Linked DNA regions of Homo sapiens: region 2 is linked to region 1. The links are contacts of gene promoters, found by promoter capture Hi-C in blood cells and fetal thymus (Javierre and others, 2016). All regions are on one chromosome and are shown on one strand. The core of a region is centred on a gene start or on the middle of the fragment in contact, and the rest is flanking DNA. Distances in the headings are between cores, read along the strand shown.

The links. The method cuts DNA at HindIII sites, captures the fragments that hold promoters and counts their contacts. A CHiCAGO score of 5 or more calls a contact.
Region 2: a contact is called between a fragment that was not itself captured here and the fragment with the promoter of GATM in region 1, in 1 of 17 cell types (monocytes). The highest score is 6.8, in monocytes.

Annotation. Positions count from the first base shown.
Region 1 is chr15:45,373,930-45,379,891 of GRCh38, reverse strand. GATM (glycine amidinotransferase) reads left to right here and starts at 1,348. Exons shown (of 9, transcript NM_001482.3): 1 at 1,348-1,507; 2 at 3,073-3,291. The coding sequence starts at 1,439. RefSeq lists an enhancer at 1,000-1,079 and a silencer at 1,220-1,549. The HindIII fragment of the contact is 1,395 bases long and covers 450-1,844 here.
Region 2 is chr15:45,637,169-45,642,814 of GRCh38, reverse strand. All of the region lies in intron 1 of SQOR (sulfide quinone oxidoreductase), which reads right to left. Among named protein-coding and RNA genes, the nearest start is that of SQOR, 5.0 kb to the right of the region's middle. RefSeq lists enhancers at 978-1,027, 5,016-5,075, 5,106-5,185. The HindIII fragment of the contact is 590 bases long and covers 2,367-2,956 here.

The sequences.
Region 1 (5,962 bases), core at 99-2,598:
CCTCGGCCTCCCAAAGTGCTGGGATTACAAGCATGAGCCACCGCGCCCGACCTAGTTTTTGTATTTTTAGTAGACAGGGTTTCATCATGTTGACCAGGATAGTCTCAAACTCCTGACCTCAGGCAATCCGCCTGCCTCGGCCTTCCCAATTGCTGGGATTACAGGCGTGAGCCACTGCACCCGGCCTCATACAGCTCTAATGCCACGCATCAAGTTCTGCATGTACAATCTCTCATTTTGGCCTCTCAGCAACCCCCCATGTGCTAGGGACAGTAAATTCTATTGTTCTCACTTTGCAGATAAGAAGACTGCAATTCAGGAAGACATATAGTAGTCTATAAGTGATTCAGGACTGGAACTCAGTTATCCTAATTCCCTCTCGGAGGCTCTTTCCACCATGCCATCTGCTCGTCTGGTGCTTTCCATCCATGAACTCTGGAAAACAAGCTTGAGATACCAAAATTGAAAAGACAGCTCATCAAAAATGAATAGTTATAATTCTATAAGTACAAAAATGAAATACTCAAATCTCTTGCCCCCCCTCCTGCTAGGAGCATAAATGTTAACCTGAGTTCTCTAGCTCTGTACAAATCCACAGCAATTAAGACTGCACTGTGAGGGAAAATACTTTTCTAAAAAAGAATCCTGATCAAGTTGAAACAAAAATTTTAAAACATGAAATGGAAGGAACGAAACTGTCGTCCTCCCTTATTTCTGACCCACACTTGTCGATTTTCATGACGGAGTTTCTCAAGCCAGGGGCATATGGCCAAAGACCATGTGAAATGCCAGGTGTTCCAAATAACAACCGACGGGGTACTGGAAGGAAAGCACTGCCTCCCCGGGGAACAAATGGCCCAATTTCCAGACTTAGTTTTCTGCAGTCTCAAACCCGATGTTGCACCAAGAAACCACCTAATCTTTAGGTGGTTTCGTTTACCGAAAAATGAGGTGACTGGTTCAGTGCGCATATGTGAATTTAAGGGTAACACTGTACTCACGCTTTGCATATTTAAATTCTCAAATATTCACTTAATATATGCATAGACCATTGTCACTTCGTCAGAAGTCGCGTCCTGCCCAGTTGCGCGAGACTCCAACGGGCCTTCTTGCGACGCTCGGGTCTGGGTCCGGGTCCGGACGTGCAACAGAAGCCGTCAGTGGCCCCGCTGGCTAAAAAAGGGCAAGCATCGGAGGCTCGAGCCAGCGGCCGCGGCGCTTCCCGACAGTTCCTAATTCGGGGCGCTACGCCGGCCCCACCACCTGTTCCCGGCAGCCAATGGGGCCGCGGGGGGCGGCCGGGGCGGAGCGCGGCTACAAAAGGCCTCGGGCCCCGCGCGCCCGCCCACCCCGCTCCGGGCGCGCTCTCGGGAAGGCTTGGACCGACGCGGCCCAGAGGCCAGGAACATTCCGCGCGTGGACCAGCCGGGCCAGGGCGATGCTGCGGGTGCGGTGTCTGCGCGGCGGGAGCCGCGGCGCCGAGGCGGTGCACTACATCGGATCTCGGGTGCGTGCGCCACCGGCCTCGTCTGGCGGCCGCGTGACTCACTCGATCCTGCGGGCGGCGTGGAGCACTCGCTCGCTCCCTGCCCGGAGCCGCCACCTTCCCTCGCTTTCCCTAGCCGGAATTGCACGAGAGTGTCCCTTCTGGTATCCCTGGGAAGCTCAGCTTCAAGAGCCTTCGCAGGCTCCAGGAGCTGGGCGGCGTCCCCCAGTCAGGGGGAACTTGCGTTGCGGCTCCAGCCCTTGGGGTCCACTTGCTGTCTGCGCGTCCGCGGCCTGCTGGCCCACGGCGCAGGGGGCGCCGCCCCCCTCTACCGGACCTTGGTGCGCTGCACCAAGCTTCCCGCTCGGAGCAAGGGGTTGGGACGACGGAGGCTCCTCTTAGTAAAAGGGTGGCGTTATTGGGGTTCAGTAGCCTGAGTGGGCGTCGAGTTGGGGAGATTTCTGGAAAATGCGTGTGGGGTAGATGGATGGGGAGAAGAGGCAAGCAAAGTGGGAATCGGGGACGGGGAGCGAGCGACCAGATTCACTCCAAGTATAACATGGGATCCCACGTCTGGAGAGGAGTCGGGGCGAGTGCAGCCTGTAAGCAGAGTTTCTGCGCTCCCCGCCCTCGGCTGCCCTGGCAGCAGACCCTCCCATGCTTCTAGTACTGGAATCGCTCCGACATTCTGGCTTCCTCCCAGCAACTGGTTCCTGAACAGCTGTCATTCTCCGTCTTTCTTCTGCCTCCACCCGAGTTCTCCTCCTGCCCACTTCCTAAGGCTTTTAACAGAGCAGGATAGAGATTTGGGGGGTTGAGGTTTGCTCAGGGGTTGAGGGACCCTCCCTGCTCTAGATTTTATAGGCCATGCATTTTTAAAAGGCTTTTGAAGTTTTTAGATCTCCTTCTTATTTGTTTGAATTTACGCCTGAGCTAATCCTGACCTTGGCTAGGGTACTGTGGACCATCTGTAAAATGGAGCAGATGGCAGTTGCTCACTCTCAGAATTGAAGTGCCAAAGAATGCGAAGTGTATGTCAAAGATGAAAAAAATTTGATTTGAAGCTGGTTATTCTGAAAGATAAGGTCCTTTACAAATGTTCCCAACTTTTCATTTGTAAAAAAAAATAAATAAAAAGCCTAATATTGGTAACCTTTGATACTTAAGGGAAAAGGAGGTTCCGTCCCCAGCTGAGACTGGCGGGAAGTTTTAGAGCAGCTGTCTATGGTTTTCTGAGAGGAGGACTGACCCATCTGCAAAACAGTTGCTTAAAGCTTGAGTGCAGGAATTGCATTCTGAGATAAAGATGGGGGTGTATGGTAGCTGGGGACACGGTCTTCTGAGGAGTTTTAAAGAGTTACAGCAATTAATAGATAAGAAGACAATTTGTAGATAAACAAGAGGGTTAAAAAAATTATCTGTAATCCCACTACCCACCTACACACTGTTAACGTCTTGGTTTATGCTGTTCTAAAGGGGTTTAAGTGGCAATGTTATGCTGGATTTTTACTCCATCTCCACTTCCTCCTCTCTGTAAGTACTGATAGAGCAATGCAATACAATAATCTTTTCTTTGTTCTTGGAAGCTTGGACGAACCTTGACAGGATGGGTGCAGCGAACTTTCCAGAGCACCCAGGCAGCTACGGCTTCCTCCCGGAACTCCTGTGCAGCTGACGACAAAGCCACTGAGCCTCTGCCCAAGGACTGCCCTGTCTCTTCTTACAACGAATGGGACCCCTTAGAGGAAGTGATAGTGGGCAGAGCAGAAAACGCCTGTGTTCCACCGTTCACCATCGAGGTGAAGGTAAAGGAAGGCTATTCACATGTCTGAAAGTGCGCTCCCTCCTCACCTGCTGCTGCTACCCTCTGACTGCTTTCCCTTCAGCTTACTCCCAGACCTCTCAATCCAGTGATTAAGTTATCTTACTTGACACCTCTGTGGTATTTGACACTATTTACACCAATGATAATTGCTTCCTTCCTGAAGAGCTTCCTGAAGCTCTTCCCTTGGATTCTGAGAGAGCTTTTCTGGGAATAATAGTTCTTTCACTGTCCTCAGATCTTCTTCCGTCACAGCCTGTAATGGCAAGGTTGAACAGAATATTACTTTCAGCCCCCTTCTCTTAGCCATTCTCACAGCTACCGCTCCCACCTCCTCTCTGGTCCGGATCTCTGTATTGAACTCCTTCCAGATCAACGAGTTAAACTCCTTACGGGATATTGCCACAGGACTTCAAACTTGGCACATCTGGAGTTCAGTTGCCAGCCACCTGCTCAAGTGGATCCCTCCTCATTCCTGCCTTTTAATTATTGGCATTCCTATTTAATCAAGCTAAAACACAAAAGAATCATCTTTGATTTCTCCTTATGTCACGTGATGTAACAAGGCTTTTGTCAAAAATGAATCTTGCCTCATTCCTCTGCTTTGCCTCTCCCTAAAGGTTGGGAGCTCATCTGCTGCCTGGACTATTGCAGTTAACTCCTAACTGGTCACTCCTACTCACTCTTCTCACCAAATCACCTGGCAGCTGCAATCCAAGTGATTTTTTAAAACTCAGATGTGATCATGTTACTCATCCTGCTTCTTTTCCTCCTGTACTTTGCTAGGCGACCCCCACTACCCCACCACCCCCCGCATTGTTTAGGATAAAGTCTTCATGGTATTCAAGATCCTTCACAATCTGACTCTTGTCTGCATTTCCAGGATTCCCCATTCCAGTTATTGACTCATCTGTTAGTACAGCAGATTAGCAGGTGTTCATTTCTGGTCAAGTCCCTCTATCCTCTAATATTCCACCCTGGTTTTCAGCAGACTTTATAAGACAACCATATAAGGCAGCTAAGCTAGACTACTCACTGTTTCTTCACAAGCCCTGCATCTTTGCCCCTACCTAAGTCTCTTCCATCCATCTTCCTGTGCCCTTTAGTCTGTAGTTTAAACCTACCACCACCTAGCTTCAATGACACCTTTCACAAAGTCTTCCAGGATTTCCCTGGCAACAAGTAATATCTCTCTTTTTAAAAACTCCTAGTGGTGGCCAGGCGCGGTGGCTCACACCTGTAATCCCAACACTTTGGGAGGCTGAGGCGGGTGGATCACGAGGTCAGGAGATCGAGACCATCCTGGCTAACACGGTGAAACCCCGTCTCCACTAAAAATACAAAAATTAGCCAGGCGTGGTGGCGGGTGCCTGTAGTCCCAGCTACTTGGGAGGCTGAGGCAGGAGAATGGCATGAACCCAGGAGGCAGAGGTTGCCGTGAGCTGAGATGGCGCCATTACACTCCAGCCTGAGCAACAGAGTGAGACTCCATCTCAAAAACAAACAAACAAACAAAAACTCCTAGTGGTTTTTATCTGTAACGTTCTTATATCCAGGGCCTCTATGGGCTGGTGTTCAGGTTCTATACTGCATAAGGATTCCATATCTAAGGGACCACTTTCCACATTGTAGACACAGCCTAGACTCCTATTAATAATGGGTTACAAATGTATCTTTAGTGTCCTTAAATTTTTCCTGAATATTTACACTTTTATTTGTAAAGTGGATTGAGGAAAGAAGTTCTGTAACAGCATTGTCGTGGTCTTCAGAAATATTGCCTACCATGTACCAGGGCTCTAGAGGTATTAATATAAAAGATCTTCCTTTCTATTTGAAGAGATTTGATGTTCACATAGAAACGAAGACCAAGTATCTTATTCCAGTCGACTGACAAGGCAGTTGAAGTGCCAGGAAAGAGGAATGACCAAGGGCTGGCCAGTTAAGAAGTCCTCTTGAAGAAAATGACTCCTGAGTTAGACTTGGAAGACAGGGAAATAGAAAAAGTAATAACTTCTAATTGTTCTGAAACTATCTTTGGTTCTGATATTTGGAATTTGATGAGAAGATTAATTTATACACCATCCACATGTTTTTAAAAGGCATAGTAGTCTTTTTAAGTCTTTTCTTGAAAAGTCCCATCCCCTAACCATTTTAATTGGGTGAAATTAAAATTTAAATCCAAGCAATAATTTATCCTTCTACTTGTCTTTAAAATGATAGACTTTCATATCATGCGATTTTACAGAATCAGAATTCTCAGAGGTAATTTTGAGTTCTTTGTCACTTGATTTATGACTTTAGACTTTGTCATTTCATGGACTTGTGGAAAAAGTACCATGCTGAAGTCAGGAGTCTGGGATTAATTAGGTATTTGATAAAAACTTGATAGCTAGTCTCGGTTACTTAGCTATTTGACCTTGTACAAGATTCCACAAATTTCTGGGCCACAGTAAAATGAAGATATTAAGAGGTTTGCTAGTTTGCTATCTACCTAACAGGATTAAGGATTAATCTAAAGATAAAAGGTTACATGTTAAGTATTTTAAAGGACAACACAACAACTTATTATAGTTGTATGGATCCAGTTTGCCAATTACATTCCAAAGGTACTTTGTCGGTGTAATAGTTGTAGATATCAGTAACATTAGCAGTAT
Region 2 (5,646 bases), core at 1,412-3,911, 260 kb before region 1:
GAAAGGCTTCTGGAAGAAAAAAAAAAGTCAAAGTTGACATCTAGACAGCTGAAGAAAAAGGAATTATGTGAGCAGAAAAAGGGAAGTTATGTCAGGGACCTGTTCGGGCTACTTTTGGACAGTTGGGTTCAAGATTTTGAAAGGAGAATCACTTGCAATGAGAATCTCCTAACGGTGGATATAAAGGAGGGCAGTCTAGCGCTCTGGGAAGAGGGAGAAATGAGATTGGATAGGCATGTGTTACTAAAGTTTAGGTCTGAGAGCTTATTCCCAGACAATGGCAATTTGATCTAGGAGTCACAAAGCAGCAACCTGCAGGCCAAGTGCAGGCCAGAGCTGTGTTTTGCTTGGCTCACAGTGCTTTTCTTGAATTTTGAATTAGTCATCAACATTAAAAAATTTGGAGATCTCGACAAAAAATATTCCAGATTCTTGGCCTCTAACACTAAGCCCACATTCTCACATGGAAACTCTTGGCTGGAGCTGAGCAGTCATTGGTCTTCTCCACCATGCACAAGGTTTCAGTTCACTCCAGCCCCACTCAGCCTATGTTGTTCATTTGTTACCTGCTCAGCCCTGGTGTGCATTTCAGCCTGTGGTTACTGCTAATGGCAGTGAGAGCCCTTGGAAGGTCTTAATAAAACTGGATTTATAAAGAGTCCCCAGGGGAAGCTGAGAGGATGAACTGGAGCAATTCAGTTGAGTTCAGCATTTTTGATTGTTTACTAAATGCCAGGGATTGTGCTAGGCACTGCACAGCCAGTGATGGGTAAGAAGAGTCTGTCTGTTATAACAGGAAAGACCAGGAATATGAAGATCCATTAAGCGGCTGTTTCAGAAATTCAGGCACAGTGAGGGTGGGGTCTGAATGGGAACAGAGATGAGGGGTGTGAATGTGAGACACACATTGACATTTTTGCGACAATCAGCTATAGGGGATAAAGAAGAAGGAAGAATGTGAACGATGACATTATATCCACTTGTTCAGGTGAATATAATGAAGACAGGATGTGAGCAGCAATACTAGAATTACTCAAAGTGGAGTAAAGGTCCAAGGCACTGTGAGGGAGAAGGAAAGCACCCCCCTTGAAAACTGAATGAGTGTTGTTCCGAGAAAGGATAGCAGCTGTGCTCTTCCTCTTGGCACACCTCTGCTTGAGTAATGGCAGTGCTATTCTTGCCTTGTGTGTTCAGGAACTGGATTACTATACTGTTAACAAATAAAGAAAATGGAGCAATCTTCACTTAGCCCTGCAGGGCCATGTTGAAACTCTCCCTCTGGAGCTGTTATAAATCCAAACATTTGTTTAAATATTAAGCTGTGAAGCAAGTACACCAGTAGTGGGCCAGGACTGAGTCACTGGGGAAATAGGAACAATCTATATAGCTCTCTGATGATTCAAGGACTGGGAGCTGCACTGGGGTTCTTTAGTTCCCTCACTCTTCAGGGGCAAAACTGTAGGAATTTTCTTTGCAGAGTTACTGATTAAGAGTTGCTAATGAGGACTTTACAATGAAACAGTGGCTCCCTTTGCTCCTGAGAAATTTCCTACAAATTATCCTGACCTATCCTTATTTTACAATCAGAGAATGCATTGTAACAAGAGAACTGACAATTTCACCAAACCAATACAATTGCTAAGCAGAAAACACAAATTATATTTACATAAGGAAAATGCTTGCATTCAGATTCCAGGAAAGAAAAAATATGTCAGTCAATTGGATTATTTCAAATGAAAGTTAAGAGTTTTGACTGAATTATATAGGGGGAAAAAAAATGAAAGAACACCTTGTTTTTCTGCTTGCTGTAGCCAGTGGGAGCCTGACTTCTCACATTCTAGTACATAAAGAAGCACGACTTAGCTCCCCTTCAACCCCACCACTCATAGTTGGCCTCTGGTCAGGTAATTTTCAGGTTTCCTTTCTAGTCTGTATATGCCTGTGTGTGCCCATCTGCAGACTGTAGGACATGACTCACTGGAAAAAGAAGCCTGAGGTGGAATCAGTGTACTCCCAGTCACACAACAGGGATGAACTTGTTTTCCTGAGTTTGTTAAATGACCACATTAAAATTACTCATCAGCCTCAGGAGCATTGGGATTTCCACTCAGAGTCTCACATGCAAGGAGTTCACTGTAAACGGGACTGGCCATTTCATTCAAGTATATCATTCCTTGGAATCCAGTGTGTGAGGTCTTACCATAATGAGAAAACACTCTTTAATTTCAAGGTATACATTTGCTATTTGGACATAGTTGGAGAGACTCTAAACTCAATCCTTTAATAGTTGAGACAGAATGAGGTGTAGACAGCTCACGTCTCTTCTGTGTCCAGCTAGATGACAATGACCCGTTCCTGGTGAAGCTTTGTCTGAGGGCATATCAAGAGTCAAGAGACCCAGGACCACAGTCCAGGGAGTGCTAGGTACAGCTCTTCCTGACCCATTTTGGGCCATGCTTTCTTCATCAATGGAATAAAGGATCAGATTGGGTGGCATCAAAGGTCCCCTGCTTCTCTAAAACTTTGCTATCCTCTAAATGAGAAAAGGAAAATGGAAGTTCACAAGCAGGCTTTCAAATGGGGACGCTTGTTCTAATAACTCCTTAGATTGATCAGAGATGTGAATTTTTGTGGCAAAGAATAACAAGGCTTTAATAAGCAGGTCTGGAACATAATTAGAATGGAAACCATTCCTCTCAATCTCTCCCCGCAAGTCCCCAAATCATTTGTGGAAGTGTTGATATGTGACAGGCATTGTGCTATGCACTTTACGTAATTACTCACAAAAACCAGAGAGGTGGGAATTATTATTCCCATTTTATAAGTGAGGAAATGGAGATTGTAAGACCATGAGATAGTCATTTACCATTTTGAGTCCATTTCCCTGAGTGTAAAATAAGTGGAGGTGTCTAGTTGCCATTAAAGACCTTTCTTACTCAATGATTCAAAACAAGCTTAGATTTGATCACCTAGACCTTGAAAGGCTCATGATTTTCCTCCAAACTCAGATGGCCCCTCATCCATCTCAAGCATCATTTATGTGCTCACAGAAACACAAAACCACATTTACTAGACCCAGCACTGTCTTGAAGAGCTCTCACAATCTATACTCCAAACATGGTGGTTGTTAAAACACATCATTTTCCTATGGAGACATCATGGGCTACCTTAGAACAAATAGCCAAAGATATAAGAAAGTTATCATAGAGTGAAATCACCACAATCCCCACTTCCAGAAGCAGCCCTCCCTCCCAGAAGTCAGGAATTGGTACCAGGATACAGACATAGCCATTTTCTCTCCATTCATGTAGCTAGGGCCAGAGCTGCTGGTTCCCAGCTAGGTGGCATGAAAGTTCCCTGAGGGCTGGGCTAGGGCCAAAACATGGAGATTCATTATGATCAGAAGGGAGTCACCCCATGGTATTTAAGGATGATCATAACATCATCACCCATCACCCACCATACATTTACAAAGTACTTACTATGTACATGGCACAACAGCTAACCTAGGTCACTTGCTGAAGAGGCCAAGTTTTTCTTTTCCTAACAGTCAAAATCATGAAGCTGAATATGGCTTTAACAACTTCAGGCAAGATCCTAGGGACCACACAGGGTGTCTGTAGAAGGAAAGTACATGGGAGACTCTTCTGCATAGGTTGGGTAAGAGATCCTAAGAGCAAGTGATGGACATGTCGGGATCATGACTTAAAAGAGATGGTGCCTAGTTGTAGCCATTTTTTTTAAACCTATTGTCCATTTGGTAGAACCAGTTGTATTAATTTTCTAGGGCTGCCATAACAAAACACTATAGACTAGATGAAGTCTAGAGAACAGAAATTTATTTTCTCAAAGTTCTGGAGATTGAAAGTCCAAGACCTCAGTGCTGATGAGACTGGTTTCTCCTGGGATCTCTCTCCCTGGTTTGCAGATGGCCACCTTCTCAGTGTGCCTTTGCGTGGCCTTTTCTCTGTGCACATGTGCTCCTGACGAGTCATCTTCTTATAAGGATACTATTCATATTGGATTAGGGCTCCACCTTAATGACCTAACTTAATTTTCCTTTTTTTTTTTTCTTTCTTTCTTTTTTTGAGACAGAGTCTTGCTCTGTTGCGCAGGCTAGAATGCAGTGGCATGATAATCTTGGCTCAATGCAACTTCCTCCTCTCCGGTTCAAGCAAGTCTCATGCCTCAGCCCCCTGAGTAGTTGGAATTACAGGTGCACACTACCCCACCCAGCTAATATTTTGAATTTTTAGTAGAGACGGGGTTCCTCTATGTTGGCCAGGCTGGCCTCAAACTCCCAGCCTCAAGCGATCTGCTTACCTCGGCCTCCCAAAGTGCTGGGATTACAGGCGTGAGCCACCGTGCCTGGCTAATTATTCTTTTATTGAGACAAGGTCTTGCTATGTTGCTCAGGCTAGCCTCGAACTTCTGAGCTCAAGCAGTTCTCCCACCTCAGCCTCCCAAGTAGCTGGGGCTACAGGTGCTCACCACCACTTCTAACTAAGGCACTATCTCCTAATACAGTCACATTCTAAGATCCTGGGGGCTAGGGTTTCAATATATGAATTTGGTGAGTCCATAACACCAGTATTTGCCCTTCCCAAAGTTACAGACATAGATAGTCCCAGTGTGTTCTAAATTTCCGAGGGTTTTTTTGTTCTGTTTTGTTTTTTTCCACAAAGTTCTCTACCTCCTGTCCCAATTTAGCACTTTCTCAATGTAAATCACAGGGATGGTTGGCTAGATCTACTTTTCTTTATTATTATTACCACCTACATCTGGGGATTACAAAGATTTTTAAGGCTGGGATTAAGAAGCAACTAGTTGGCTTCCAGCCAGGTCTGGGCAGCTTTCCATAAGCTATCCAAACTGCTCCTATTTACCAAGTCTTCAGAGTCAAAGAGGAGTTATATAGTAGATAGTGGAGCAGGGAAACGTGAAAGGAGAAGAAAAAAGTACATCTATGCCCAGAAATGCCTTGTCATGGGTCCGTCTCCATTCTTTATAAGACATTTCCTGTGTTACAACACATCGGATTAACAAAGCTAGACACAGGCAACATGGAGGAGAAACTGTTCTGCAAAGGAATCCGGTTTCCTTTCAACATTCAGTTTCATTTTCACTGGCAGAACACCAGCCACACAGACACGCACACACAGACCCTGGGCCCTGACTGACATTTCAAACACCCCCGTTCCAAATGTGTTTATATATTTTTCCAGCCAGAAAAAAAGCCCCAAATTTAAACAAAGTCATTTCCCAAACCACCAGCTGTCTCCTTAATGAATTTTGTTTTTTGGACTTAGTCACAAGCAACCCTTTCTGACCCACTTATTCATTCAATAAATAATGAGTACCTCCCCAGGCTTGGGGATATAAGGCCATAAGCTTGGGAGGGATACAAATAAGTTCTGATAAATGGTATCTACTTCAGCCCTCTACACTAAGTGCAGTGCTGGGTGCCTTAAATACTTGGGAAGGTGTTATTATCTCCACTGTACAATGAAGAAGCTGAGGCGAAAAGAAATTCAAAAGCCAAAGTTAAGCTGGGTGTGGTGGTTGCTTTGGGAAGCAGACAAGGGCAGATCACTTGAGGTCAGCAGTTCAAGACCAGCCTAGCCAATATGGTGAAACCCTGTCTCT